2 separate regions of the Homo sapiens genome follow, and region 1 is linked to region 2. The links are contacts of gene promoters, found by promoter capture Hi-C in blood cells and fetal thymus (Javierre and others, 2016). All regions are on one chromosome and are shown on one strand. The core of a region is centred on a gene start or on the middle of the fragment in contact, and the rest is flanking DNA. Distances in the headings are between cores, read along the strand shown.

Evidence for each region. Contacts are between HindIII fragments. The CHiCAGO score rates a contact against its expected background, and 5 or more counts as called.
Region 1: a contact is called between the fragment with the promoter of ACVR1C here and the fragment with the promoter of IFIH1 in region 2, in 1 of 17 cell types (non-activated CD4 T cells). The highest score is 6.0, in non-activated CD4 T cells.

What each region holds. Positions count from the first base shown.
Region 1 is chr2:157,624,386-157,631,007 of GRCh38, reverse strand. It overlaps ACVR1C (activin A receptor type 1C), which reads left to right and starts at 2,144. Exons shown (of 9, transcript NM_145259.3): 1 at 2,144-2,436. The coding sequence starts at 2,364. RefSeq lists a silencer at 2,200-2,429. The HindIII fragment of the contact is 11,498 bases long and covers 1,624-6,622 here.
Region 2 is chr2:162,314,474-162,320,736 of GRCh38, reverse strand. It overlaps IFIH1 (interferon induced with helicase C domain 1), which reads left to right and starts at 2,053. Exons shown (of 16, transcript NM_022168.4): 1 at 2,053-2,882. The coding sequence starts at 2,430. It also overlaps a transcript of GCA not described here. RefSeq lists enhancers at 821-2,020, 1,589-2,138 and a silencer at 2,169-2,258. The HindIII fragment of the contact is 6,386 bases long and covers 1-2,815 here.

The DNA.
Region 1 (6,622 bases), core at 895-3,394, 4.7 Mb after region 2:
TAACGCACCATTAGACTAAGAGGAAAGCATTGAGTTTGTGTAGAATATTGGAGTTATTCAATATTTGACTTCTTGGAATAATAAGCTTTTTTTTTTTTTTTTTTTGGAGACGGAGTCTTGCTCTGTCGCCCAGGCTGGAGTGCAGTGGCGCCATTTCGGCTCACTGCAAGCTCTGCCTCCTGGGTTCACGTCATTCTCCTGCCTCAGCCTCCCGAGTAGCTGGGACTACAGGCACCCGCCACCACACCTGGCTAATTTTTTGTATTTTTAGTAGAGACGGTGTTTCACCATATTAGCCAGGATGGTCTCGATCTCCTGACCTCGTGATCCGCCCGTCTCGGCCTCCCAAGGTGCTGGGATTACAGGCGTGAGCCACCGCGACCGGCCTTTTTTTTTTTTTTTTTTTTTTTTTTGCAAATGAGAGCTTTACAACTTGCAGAGGATGTTGCTTTAGAGACAAAATAAGTATGTGGGGAGTAAATCCCTGCCATTGTTGTAATGTGTATGGTTTAACAATGCTCTCTCATACACTACCCTTTTTGATCCTGGTCAAAGTTCTGGGAAATAGGGAGGAATTAAGTTCCATTTACTTTTGAGGAAGCAGACCCAGAAAGTTCATTACATTCTGCTATTTAGGCTCCCGGTATCATGATCTATTGGCAGATCACAATTTAAGGTGCAGTTATCAAATAATTAGCAAGCCAAACCAGACAAAATATAATGTGTCCTAGCAGTTTCTTGCCTTTTTAAAAAAGCATCTGTTTTGTGGGTGTCTGAAAGGGCTCAGATTTGTCCCACATCTCCAGTTTTTTGTTTGTTTGGATCCAGGATAAAACAAGAACAAAGTTTTTTTGTGCTTAGGAATATAAGATGGTGGCAGAAAAGATCCTCAGGATGCCACCCACATCTCAAAGTCCAACAACCATCTCATCTCCCATACTGTGATCCTTTGATAATAAAGTCAATTACATACAACATTTCACCATAGGTCTTTCATAGAACTTAGAACACCTAGCATATAATTTAGTCCTGAGCTAGGTGAAGAAGCAAGAAATGTTTTACTCTAAAGCAATTTTTATGACGCTATCACTTTTCAAGGAACCCCCAACAGTAGTAATAACACCAGTATTGTATTCTTGCTTTTTCGCGTTGTTCAGATTGAAATAATCCCATTCACTTTAATGTTCAGGCTCCATAGGTGAATTGAATTTAATTTCTATAAATTGGTAATGTTGCCGTTGTCCTTATATTTTCAGGCACAATCCAGGCCTTATATTTTCAGGCACCCGTTTGACAGTTAGCCTCTAGGGATTAAACAATACTCAAACAAGTTTTTCATATACTACTTTAAACAATTCTTCCCCTTCCCTTAATCCGTGTGTGTGTGTGTGTGTGTGTGTGTGTGTGTGTGTGTGTGTGTATGTTCCCTTAGTTCTTCAATTGCTGAAGTTGTAGCTGCCGAAATTATCTTCCATAGGTGAGGTCTTTTACCACCAGACGTGGGTCACACATTGTAGATGGCCACATCACCTGGCGCAGGTGGTCCAGCTTTGGTCGCCATTCATAGAGGGAAGGGTTCCCAAAAGGCACCCAAGAAGAGATGAAGTTTGTTAAACCAAAGCTTATAGGTCCAGAAGGCAGTCGGACAACTGGTCATTTCCAGGGATGAACAGAGAGGGCGCCCTTCCCCAGAGGCACAAATGGCCAGGACGCAGGGGTGGGACAAGCCAGTAGGAAGCCCGCGGGGCTCTCACAGCGCAACCTGGTTGGACTTAAGGACCCTGGACAACAAACGTCAGGAGAGCTAGGAGGCTGGCTCTTCTGCGGGAGGTTATAGAGCGGATCACCTGGGCGCAATCGCCGCGTAGTTGAAGTTTCCCTAAAGTCTCAGTGGGGCTTTTCCTCCCGTGAGAAGCCCCATTCCTGAGTATCTAGTCCCGGAGGCTCCGCACTGCTTCCCCACGCCCCCTCTTTCTTCGCCCCAGCTCTGGGCGATCTCACTGCCGGGCACAGGGCCGCCTTTGCCTGCCTGCCCTGCAGCAGCAGGCCCGGGCGGCTGCGAGAGGGCGCAGGGGGCGGAGGCGCGGCAGGGGCGGGCTCTGCCGCCCGCCCCACCACCCGCTCCCCGCCCGGCTGCGGGGCCAGTGGCAGGAGCGCCGCGCACCGCCAGCCGCAGGGGGCGTGGGATGGGGGCGGCCGGGGAGGGGGGCGCCCACACTGACTAGAGCCAACCGCGCACTTCAAAAGGGTGTCGGTGCCGCGCTCCCCTCCCGCGGCCCGGGAACTTCAAAGCGGGCCGTGCTGCCCCGGCTGCCTCGCTCTGCTCTGGGGCCTCGCAGCCCCGGCGCGGCCGCCTGGTGGCGATGACCCGGGCGCTCTGCTCAGCGCTCCGCCAGGCTCTCCTGCTGCTCGCAGCGGCCGCCGAGCTCTCGCCAGGTACGGTGCTGGTTTCTCTCCCGACGCCCGCGAGGGTGGGAGCTGGGAGGAGGTCTGCGGGTGAGCACGGGGGTGGGGGACAGGGGGTGCTCCGAGCAAACTGACCTTCGGGGCGGACAGGGAAGCGCCAGTCGGATTGAGGGGGCGCGGGATAGGGTGCAGCGTGGGCACCTGACGTCTGGCAGCCGTAGGGGTAGACAGGTGTGTTGGGGACGAAGCCGCCCGGAAGAGGGAAAAGGCAGCAGGGACGTGGGGGAATAAGTAGTAGGGGTGAGGTGGGTGACTAATTTGTGGGCAGTTTGCAGCGGAGAAAATAGGAGAGCGTTTGTGGGTGCGCGCATGGCTGGGAGCTGGGTTCACCCTGCAGGGACCTGGAGGGCTGCAGGTATGCGTCGGACGCGCTCTGTGCTAAGCCCCTGAGAGCTGCTCAAGGATGGTGGCATGGTGGTGGTGGGAGGTGGTGATTTAGTCTGAGTTTTAGGAGGCGGGGAATACCCCAAAAGCCGCAGATGCCAAGCTATGGAGGCGAGAGTGGGAGCTTAAATCTGTGTGGTTTGCAACGCACATTGCTTTCGAGGTACGATCTTTACTCAGAGTTCCTGGGGAAAAAAATTCTGGCAAGCGCCCCAGAGTTTATAACAGGTCTGTGCCTTGATAGGCTAAATAGAGCCCTCTACCCAATCTAGAAGCCAGACGTTTCTTTATAATGTTTACTAGAAAGTGGGGCAAATGCATCTTTGGTAAAATCATAATATGCTGTGACTAAAAGCCCTTTACCTCGAAAACTATTTTCATTACATTGTCCTGGATTATGCAGAGGAGGAGCAGATTCTTTGCTAACTCATTCTTTAAAAATTTCTATCAGACATTGAAGACATTTGCACATAAAAATCTGGTGTTTTCCCATAGAGCTGTGTTTTGTCCGAAGCTGATTTTGATGCATTTTGTTTTCCCAGATGACAATCTGTTTGACATTAATAGCTATATTCATGGTGGGTCGTTTTCCTCTTAGTGACATGTGCAAGAGAATGATTTGAATGATATGATTGCTGTCATGTACAGATTTCAGTGTTTCAGATGGCCTGAGAGAATCACTAAATACAATATTCAAATATAAATTTGATTATTGAAAAGGATTAATTGACAAAATCTGAGGATTAAAACATTCCAGTTATCTTTTAGGAAAACAGCCCAAGACTGTCGGAAAGATGATGGGATAAAGTGAAATATTTGCATTTAGAGTTAATAAATTTATAAGTGGGAGAAAACCAACTATGGGAAAGTCTTTAAAAAATGGGTGAAAACTCTGCTAACTTGGGATACTGAAAGTGCTCTTGACAATTTAATAGAGTTTACAAAAAAAAGTCTTCAAGGTATCACAGTTTTGATGGGGTGAAACTGCCTCTGGAGGCTGTCTGTACAACTCTTTTTATTTGGAGGAGCTGATAACTTGGCTGCACACATTTCTACAAAACAGATTCAATTTTTTTAAAATGTAGCTTCAAGGGTATATTTTGTTGTATACCCAGAATCTTTAGAAAATTTCAGAGACCTTGAGCATAGCAACATGCCTCATGTTCTTGAAAAGGCATGGAAACTTTTGACATTGAAATATGCAAAAAATAAAAAAAAGATAATCCATTCAAAGTCGCTCACTTAAAATTTGAAGTCTAAGAAAAATGCATGATATGGAATAATATAGTAGAGATGTATTTATTGAAGCTGAACTTTTATGAAAAACTTTTCTATGTCAAGTGCAATCATTTTCAAATCTCCTTAAGAAGTTTTTACCCCTCTGTGTCCCACGTTAACAATGTATATTGCTACTTATAGTATTTATTCTTAACTTTATATAAAACTCTGGCTATTTAGTAGAAAGATTCAAGGTAGTTTTGTTTTGCTTTTCACTTTTTCAATTGGTTTTATGACATGGTTAGCCAACTGTATTTTTACCTGGTCACTTTTACAAATTATACTGTTAATCATATTGGCCATTTATGACATGTACTTGCTGTTGTTGGAATGTTATATGAGAAGTTGTTCTTGATGTAATGACATAGTCAGTGAAACTGTGTGACAGAAGGCACCACCTTTCATCTGGATCTGCAGAGCAGGCCTACGACTTTAAATATCTGAACACATGATAAACCAGTAAACCTTTTTTACTTTGGCTGCTCATTCCCCACATTGTTGTCACCTTAGGGGTGTCCATTGCTCCTTTTTGAGAATCTCAGAAGATAACAGCTGGTAGAGACTTAGAAAAACTGTTTATTGGTCTGGACTGGAATTAAAAAAATCAGGCTGGCTGGGTGCAGTGGCTCACGCCTCTAATCCCAGTACTTTGGGAGGCCGAGGTGTGAGGATTGCTTGAGGCCAGCAAGTTCAAGACCAGCTCAGGCAACATAGTGAGACACCATCTCTACAAAAAATTTAAAAACAATTAGCCAGTTCTGGTGGCACACACCTGTAGTCCTAGCTACTTGGGAGGCTGAGACAGAATTGCTTGAGACCAGGAGTTCAAGATTGCAGTGAGCCATGATCACACCACTGCACTCCAGCCTGGGTGACACAGTGAGGCACCGTCTCTAAAAACAAGAGCAACGAAAAACTCAGGCTCCTCTGAGTTGCTCTGGTTATGTAGGTTCTGGATGCCTTGATGTTTGATAAGAGAGACCTGACATGGCTTCACAATATTCACCATGTGTACCCAAAAAAGAAGTGGCAGAAAATGTCCTGGAGTTCTCTACTTTGAAGCTGTGATTTGGATGTTACATAGATTTACATATTGTGCATTCTCTTCTAATTTCTTGAAACTCCTTTGTCCTCTGGTCCAGAAAGGATTATTAAGAGTCCAGAAAGCCCTATGTTGTTACTCCAAAAATGGAATAAATATTTCCTTAATAACCAGGGTGAGAGTGGGGGTTTCAAGTAATGAAATTCTTCCCCCCACCCCCCTGCACCCCTCTGCACCCCCTCACCCCCACTGCAAACAATAGTTAGCAGTTTCCACTAAGAGTTTTCCACAGTGTTGCTGGAAGTGAAAGTGAAAGCTCAGGGCTGACTGAGTTTATAAATGCAAAAGATGTTGCCATCTTTGCCCTTCTTTAAGCATAGTCATTTATTGGTTGATTGACACAGATGTGGCAAGAGGCTCCCTGGTTCCAAGGAAGACATCTCTGGCCCAGGAGAAACTATGCTTAGAGATTTCCTCTGAATTGCTAAACTCATACAAAAAATAAAGGACTTTGAGGTGTGAAAGTGAGTAGCTAAGGATGATGCTACATTTTTGACCCAAGCAATGGAAGAATGGACCCTTAATTGGGGTGGGGCAGACTGCAGGAAAAGCTGGTCTGGGGAGAGAAGGGTTGGTGCTGACAGATCACAGGAGCTCAGTTTTGAATATGTTGAGTTCAAAATGCCTCTCAGATGCTGAAATGGAGATGTTAAGTAAGCAATTGGTTTTCTGGGTCTGAAGTTCAGGGGATAAATATGGACTGATGATAAAAAATTGAGAGCCAAGGGCATTTACTGATAACTTTTCAAAGACGCATTAAATAGAGCCACAGACTTAGCAAATAAGGCAGAGAATACCTTGTTAGATTGAATTTGAGATAAACAATGAATACCTCTTTAGTATAAGTGTGTCACAAGTATGACATGGAACACAAGTATATTAAAAATTAATTGCTGTTTAATTCCAATTTAACTGGGTGTTCTGTACTTTTATCTTGCAAACCAACATAAAAGAAGTCCTGTTGTGAGATAAACCATTCCTGATGCATGTATTTCTGGCTCTTTTATTAAAAAGAGAAGTGAAGACCTATTTTCTAGTCCTCAGCTCTAAAACCCTCGCCTGTTCTAGCTCCGTTACTGTCTTCATGTGCATCTCCCAATGTGTCACTCCCAACTCTTTGCACAGGATATCTCTCTTCTGTGTGAACCTGAAAGGATACCTAGTTTTCTCCAATCCTACATGAGTATCTAGACATGAAAATATGGGTGAAAAAAACAAGAATAACTCTTGATTCCCTTGATTGTTGCATGAAAGCAGTTGGTTTTTCCCAAGTTCGCTGTATTTTGGAAGTGGTTATTTTCAGATGTGATTTTGGAGTAGTTTCCTTTTGAATACACTTTCATGTTTCTCTTTTGGGGAAATGCTTTCAGGCAGTAGCCAAGACCCACTTTG
Region 2 (6,263 bases), core at 804-3,303:
CAGTGCTGGTCATGTAATAGATACTTAATAAACATATTTTAAATGACTAGATGATACAATGAATGATATAATTTGAATGCCAAATATTTAAATATCTTTGGTTTAAATGTTTATTATTTGAGAACAGGTCAAATACCAAACATTTGATCCTTTCTCTTCCAGAGCAACAATTAAGTGGTATGAAGAAAATAACATTAACTGGTTCCCCATATTCAGTCAGCAACCCCTTCTCATTCCCCCATGTTTGAAACCAAGAAACAGAAGGATAAGTGCCAGGAAAAAGAATGTTTTTTGGTTTGTTAGTTTGTGCTTTAACATGTTGAATAAAACCCACTGGCAGCTGGGGGATAGGAGTATGTTTTTGCAACAGCCTTAAAAGATATTTTCATAGACCCAATACTTAAAATTAATAATTTGAGTGCTTTTGTAGAAACATCTAATTGGATTATCCTCTATCTGGGTACAAGGTCATCTCCCAAAATTAAGTGAAAAAGGAGTAGGGTTCTGTGAAGAAACAGAAAAGAACAGTATAAATCAGGCCTACCTGCAAGCCCAAGGTTTCATTTACTTCAACTTTCAGTGTATTTAACATTATGCCAGCTGCTATGGTCAACTCAAATACAACTCCCAGGAGAGATGTCATCAAGAGCCCACCAGTTGTGAGTAGTGTACTAGTTACTATGTAAATATATCCCTTCTTCAAGCAGCTTACAATCCTTCAGGGGTAGAAAAAGCCTTGCTACATAAGATAATTAGAGAATAAAATAAGACATGTTACCATAAAGTGCTCATTTGGATATTTTGTATGCCCCTAGTAAACACTCACCAAGACTCTGTACTTCTATTATCCTGTTCAAAGCACTATCAGGTTTTCCTGGCCTACACAGACTTTATTGAATGTACTTTGCTAACAGATTATTTTTCCTAAATATGTCTCTTTGATAACCTAAATGATCTCTCCATCCTTTATATAATTCTGGACCATGAGATTCTAGTTATGGTGCGTATGTGCCTACCACCCACAGTCACATGTGGCTACAGAATGCCTTCAGAATGAGTAGTAACCTTAAGGACTCACATTTATGTGGCTTCTGTACCAAAATGAAGCTGCCATTTTTCAGTGTGAATATGTTTTTTTTCTCTCATGACATAGACAAATGTTGATGTTTACTACAAGTTGGTACATTAGTTGCTAATTAAGTTCCTAGCTGCTCCAGCCAAAACTTGCTGTATTGAATCCAAGAAAAGAATGGCAGCTATATCAAAAATAAGTTGTTGGGGGATTTTTTTGTTTTGTTTTATTAAAGGAAAGTTGTATATTAAAGAATATAGGGAACTTACAAGCTGGGATCTAGGAAACTTTAAGTCTTGGCTTCCTTCTAAGCTGAGTTGGTGGTTCAAGTCCATCCACATCTGTTACCAGGTCCTGGTCAAAGCTGCATAAATACCAGCAATCTAAATATGAGGCAGTAAAGTTAACTGTTTATTGTTACTCACTTTTTCGAACCCACCTCCAAATTCCCAGGGAAACAAGTTAGTGTTTGGGAACCCACAGGAGGTCAGGTTTATTTTAGGAAGGACTTCCTCCTGTCTTCTCCACATCTCTGCAAAGATGTCTTCTGAGCTTCATCTCTCACCTGTCCCTCGCAGTCTCACCACCCTCAGCCAGGCCTGCCTACATTCACCAGCCGAGGGTAACTCCCTGTTCACGTCCGGGTCTGTGGCAGTTTCTGTTCACTTCCCCTTTGGAAAGTCCCAAATCACATGCTTTTATGCCCTGCACATTTTGGCCTACAAAGGACCTTATTGTTAAGGCAGAACCTGCTGGGAAAACAAAATATCCGCCGGAGGAGCTTTGCTAGAGCGTTGGTCTTGGTGTCAGAGAGAATTCGCTTTCCTTTTCTGTTTCCCGCGGTGTCCTTAACCAAAGGCCTCCTCTCTTCACCCGCCCCGACCAAAAGGTGGCGTCTCCCTGAGGAAACTCCCTCCCCGCCAGGCAGATTACGTTTACAAAGTCCTGAGAAGAGAATCGAAACAGAAACCAAAGTCAGGCAAACTCTGTAAGAACTGCCTGACAGAAAGCTGGACTCAAAGCTCCTACCCGAGTGTGCAGCAGGATCGCCCCGGTCCGGGACCCCAGGCGCACACCGCAGAGTCCAAAGTGCCGCGCCTGCCGGCCGCACCTGCCTGCCGCGGCCCCGCGCGCCGCCCCGCTGCCCACCTGCCCGCCTGCCCACCTGCCCAGGTGCGAGTGCAGCCCCGCGCGCCGGCCTGAGAGCCCTGTGGACAACCTCGTCATTGTCAGGCACAGAGCGGTAGACCCTGCTTCTCTAAGTGGGCAGCGGACAGCGGCACGCACATTTCACCTGTCCCGCAGACAACAGCACCATCTGCTTGGGAGAACCCTCTCCCTTCTCTGAGAAAGAAAGATGTCGAATGGGTATTCCACAGACGAGAATTTCCGCTATCTCATCTCGTGCTTCAGGGCCAGGGTGAAAATGTACATCCAGGTGGAGCCTGTGCTGGACTACCTGACCTTTCTGCCTGCAGAGGTGAAGGAGCAGATTCAGAGGACAGTCGCCACCTCCGGGAACATGCAGGCAGTTGAACTGCTGCTGAGCACCTTGGAGAAGGGAGTCTGGCACCTTGGTTGGACTCGGGAATTCGTGGAGGCCCTCCGGAGAACCGGCAGCCCTCTGGCCGCCCGCTACATGAACCCTGAGCTCACGGACTTGCCCTCTCCATCGTTTGAGAACGCTCATGATGAATATCTCCAACTGCTGAACCTCCTTCAGCCCACTCTGGTGGACAAGCTTCTAGTTAGAGACGTCTTGGATAAGTGCATGGAGGAGGAACTGTTGACAATTGAAGACAGAAACCGGGTAGGTGTCTGTTCAGATGGAGCTAGCCTTTTAGGCAGATTTTGCAAAGCAGGCTTCCTTGTGCGTTTGCCCCTTTCCAAATGTGCTTGACCTCTTTGGGCAAATCTAGTTTCTTCCTTTGAGAAGACAACATCTAGGCACTTTAAGACAATTTTAAAAATTTAAACACAAAAGAACTACTTTTCTAATGTTTTCACTGAAGTAAAAAGGAGTTAACTCTAGAATCGTAATGTGTATTAACAGGTAACTTTTATTGAACACTTACTATGTGCAGTTGGTATCATTTTCAAAATGTATTACTACAGTTCATGTTCAGAGTAACCCACTGAGGCTCCTAATGTTATTAACTCCATTTTACAGATGAGAAACCTGAGGCAGGTTAAATAATTTGTCCAAGGTCTCCCAGGAAAAACAGTGGCAGAGCTAAGAATTTAGCTTGTGATAGTGTTGAATGTTTTTCTTATTTAATGTAGTTCCATGGAGCAGGGGTTAGTAAACTACGGCCCATGGGCTAAATCAAGCCTGCTACTGTTTTTTTCAGGCCCACAGGCTAAGAATGGTCTTCAGATTTTTCAATTTTTAATTTTCAGTGTTCATAAAGTTTTATTGGAACACAGTCATGCTCGTTTGTTTACATATTGCTTGTGGCTGCTTTTCTACTCCAAAGGCAATTGGATGGAGACTGTGTGCCCTTAAAGCCAAAAATATTTATTATCTGGCATTTTAGAGAAAAAGTTTTCCAATCTTTGCCCTACATTACACTTTGTGCCATTTAGTCTTAGCCCAAATGGGTAAATTGCAATCACACACACACACACACACACACACACACACACACCCTTTTTCTTTAATCAAAGTTTCAACATTCTTTGAGAATCAAAATTTAGAAACAATTCATTGAAAGAATGTGTTGCTAGTTTCAGTTTTTCATGTTAGTGAAGAAACTCATTTTTCTTAAGGTAGCATTTTGACAGGGCGAATTTTACTGATGACTTTACATTGAATGTGATATGAATTATTTTTTGATAAGTGAAGATGTACTGTGATGTGTATAAATGCTGACCTGTTTGAATGTGACTTATTCAGGCTCGTAAGTCAAAAGTCTTGTTTTGGAAGACATGTAGACAAATAAAGCCATGACTAAAAGTCAAAGGCTTTGTCTACACCACTCTATGATTTTCACATGGTTTTTTTCTCTCTCTCTCTTTTGGGTCATCCATTGTTTGTATATTCATACAAACTTCTGGGCATTTGATTGATTTGCTATAGCCTATGATGCAATTTAGTCTTTAGTGAATAAAGTTAGTGATCTTTTGTAGACTTGACAGACACAGGGCCTGTCCAAAGACCCAAACATGCATCTAATTTTGATGGCCAGTTTTCCCAACAAGTAAATTACTTTGCACTGTTGTCTGTAATGTTTATGTCGTTTTGTGTATTGAGAACCAGCTAGAACGCATTATAGTAGTCCAGCTGGATATGACAAATGTGTACATCACTGTGGCAGAATCTTAATTTGGAAGAAAGTATGCAGCCTTCAAGCCAGCTGGAGATGGAAGATGGCATTTCCAGCCACAGTAGCTGTTAGAAGTCCAGAAGCAACAGAGTCCAGTAACACCACAAAGCTGTTTATGTTTGGTGGGTATGATGTCCCGATTGCCAGCGAAACAGCACTTCTCCCTATTTACTCTAAATACTTCTGCCTATCAGCATCACTTTTGTCTTGCCTGGATTGAATTTCCGCCAGCTAGATTTTATCCAAGTTCTTGATTCTGGCAAGCTTGGAGGCAGCTAGCAGTAATGCAAGGGATTTGACACAAAGAAGATATAGAGTAACGGGACTTTTGTGTACTGGTAGCAGTTAAGGCCAAAACAACCCAAATTCTCCCTCTGATTCACATTTCAAAGGAGGCCCCAAAAGACTGAGCAGCTATAAATTTGAGGCTCTCTAGGAAGCAATAGTTTCTCTGTGAGAGTGTGGAATAATTTTTGTGTGCATCATTTACATGTATTATCAGTTCCAAAACTAAGATATGGTGGACAATGAGACGGAAGCATTAAGTTTGGTAGAATAATCTATATTGAGGTGGTGGTCATTGACAAATGTTTATCTTACAGCAGCAAAGTGTGATAAGACTGTAGAAGGGGAACACATGGATTTGAGGTCCATCTTGGCTTCTTACTATATGCGTTACTTTGGGCCAAATTACTGAAGTTCCCTGATGCTACATTTACCTGTGAAAATGGACATCATAAAATTTCTCACAGTATTTTAGTCAACATCAAATCAGAAATAGTGTTTATGAAAAAGCTTATAAATCAGAGCTATTTGATATGATAATGGTGTTGACTTTTGTAACCATTCATCTGGTTACATTTCTGTGTAAATTTAAGTTTGAGAGATTGAGGTAAATTCCCCATGTCGCAATTGAGATATACTTCTTAAAGTCCCTAGATTATACTGATTTGAAAAAGAAATTACCTCTTTCATCCCAGAACCTAACTAGGATTAGGTAGAGGGTTGGTGTTTAGTAAGCATTGATTACTTGATTGATAGACTAATTGAATTTATTTCTGAAAGTGTCTGGAATAAGCGTTGAAAACACATGACGTATTGAATTGTGTTGCCAGGCGTTAGAGAATGGATGAATGATGAAAATAAGATTTCCAAATTTGCTTTTTTGAAGGCTTAAAATAGCATTTAACTAAGTAATCAAGACTTCTATAAAATGGTCTTGTATTTTCATTCTTTTTCTGTTTCCCCATAGACATTTTCTACTTGATCTATTATTTTAATTTAGGATTCCCACCCCATTTCCTAGCCCCTGCCCGTAATTACAGCAGGCCTTCTGAAAATGACTTTATACATAGGTTTGTGTCCAGCAAGTACCCAAAAACTTATTCATTCATTCACTCATTCATTCAGTTTGAATTTATTGAGTGGCATCTTTGTGCCGGATGCCATGCTAGTGGTGAAAAGATAGGAGAAAAACACAGAGACTGTTTTGTCCTTTCGTGAAGTTGTGTTGTAGTGTTAATTAGTGTTGATAAAAGAATGTCTACTGTAGGCCAGTCATGGTGGCTTACGCCTGTAATCCCAGCACTTTGGGAGGCCGAGGAGGGTGGCTCTCGAGGTCAGGAGATGGAGACCATCCTGGCTAACACGGTAAAACTCCGTCTCTACTAAAAATACAAAAAAATTAGCTGGGTGTGGTGGTGGGAGCCTGTAGTCCCAGTTACTCGGGAGGCTGAGGCAGGAGAATGGCATGAACCTGGGAGGCGGAGCTTGCAGTGAGCTGAGATGGCGCCACTGCACTCCACCCTGGTGACAGAGCGAGACTCCATCTAATAAGAAAGAGAGAAAGAAAAAGAAAGAAAGAA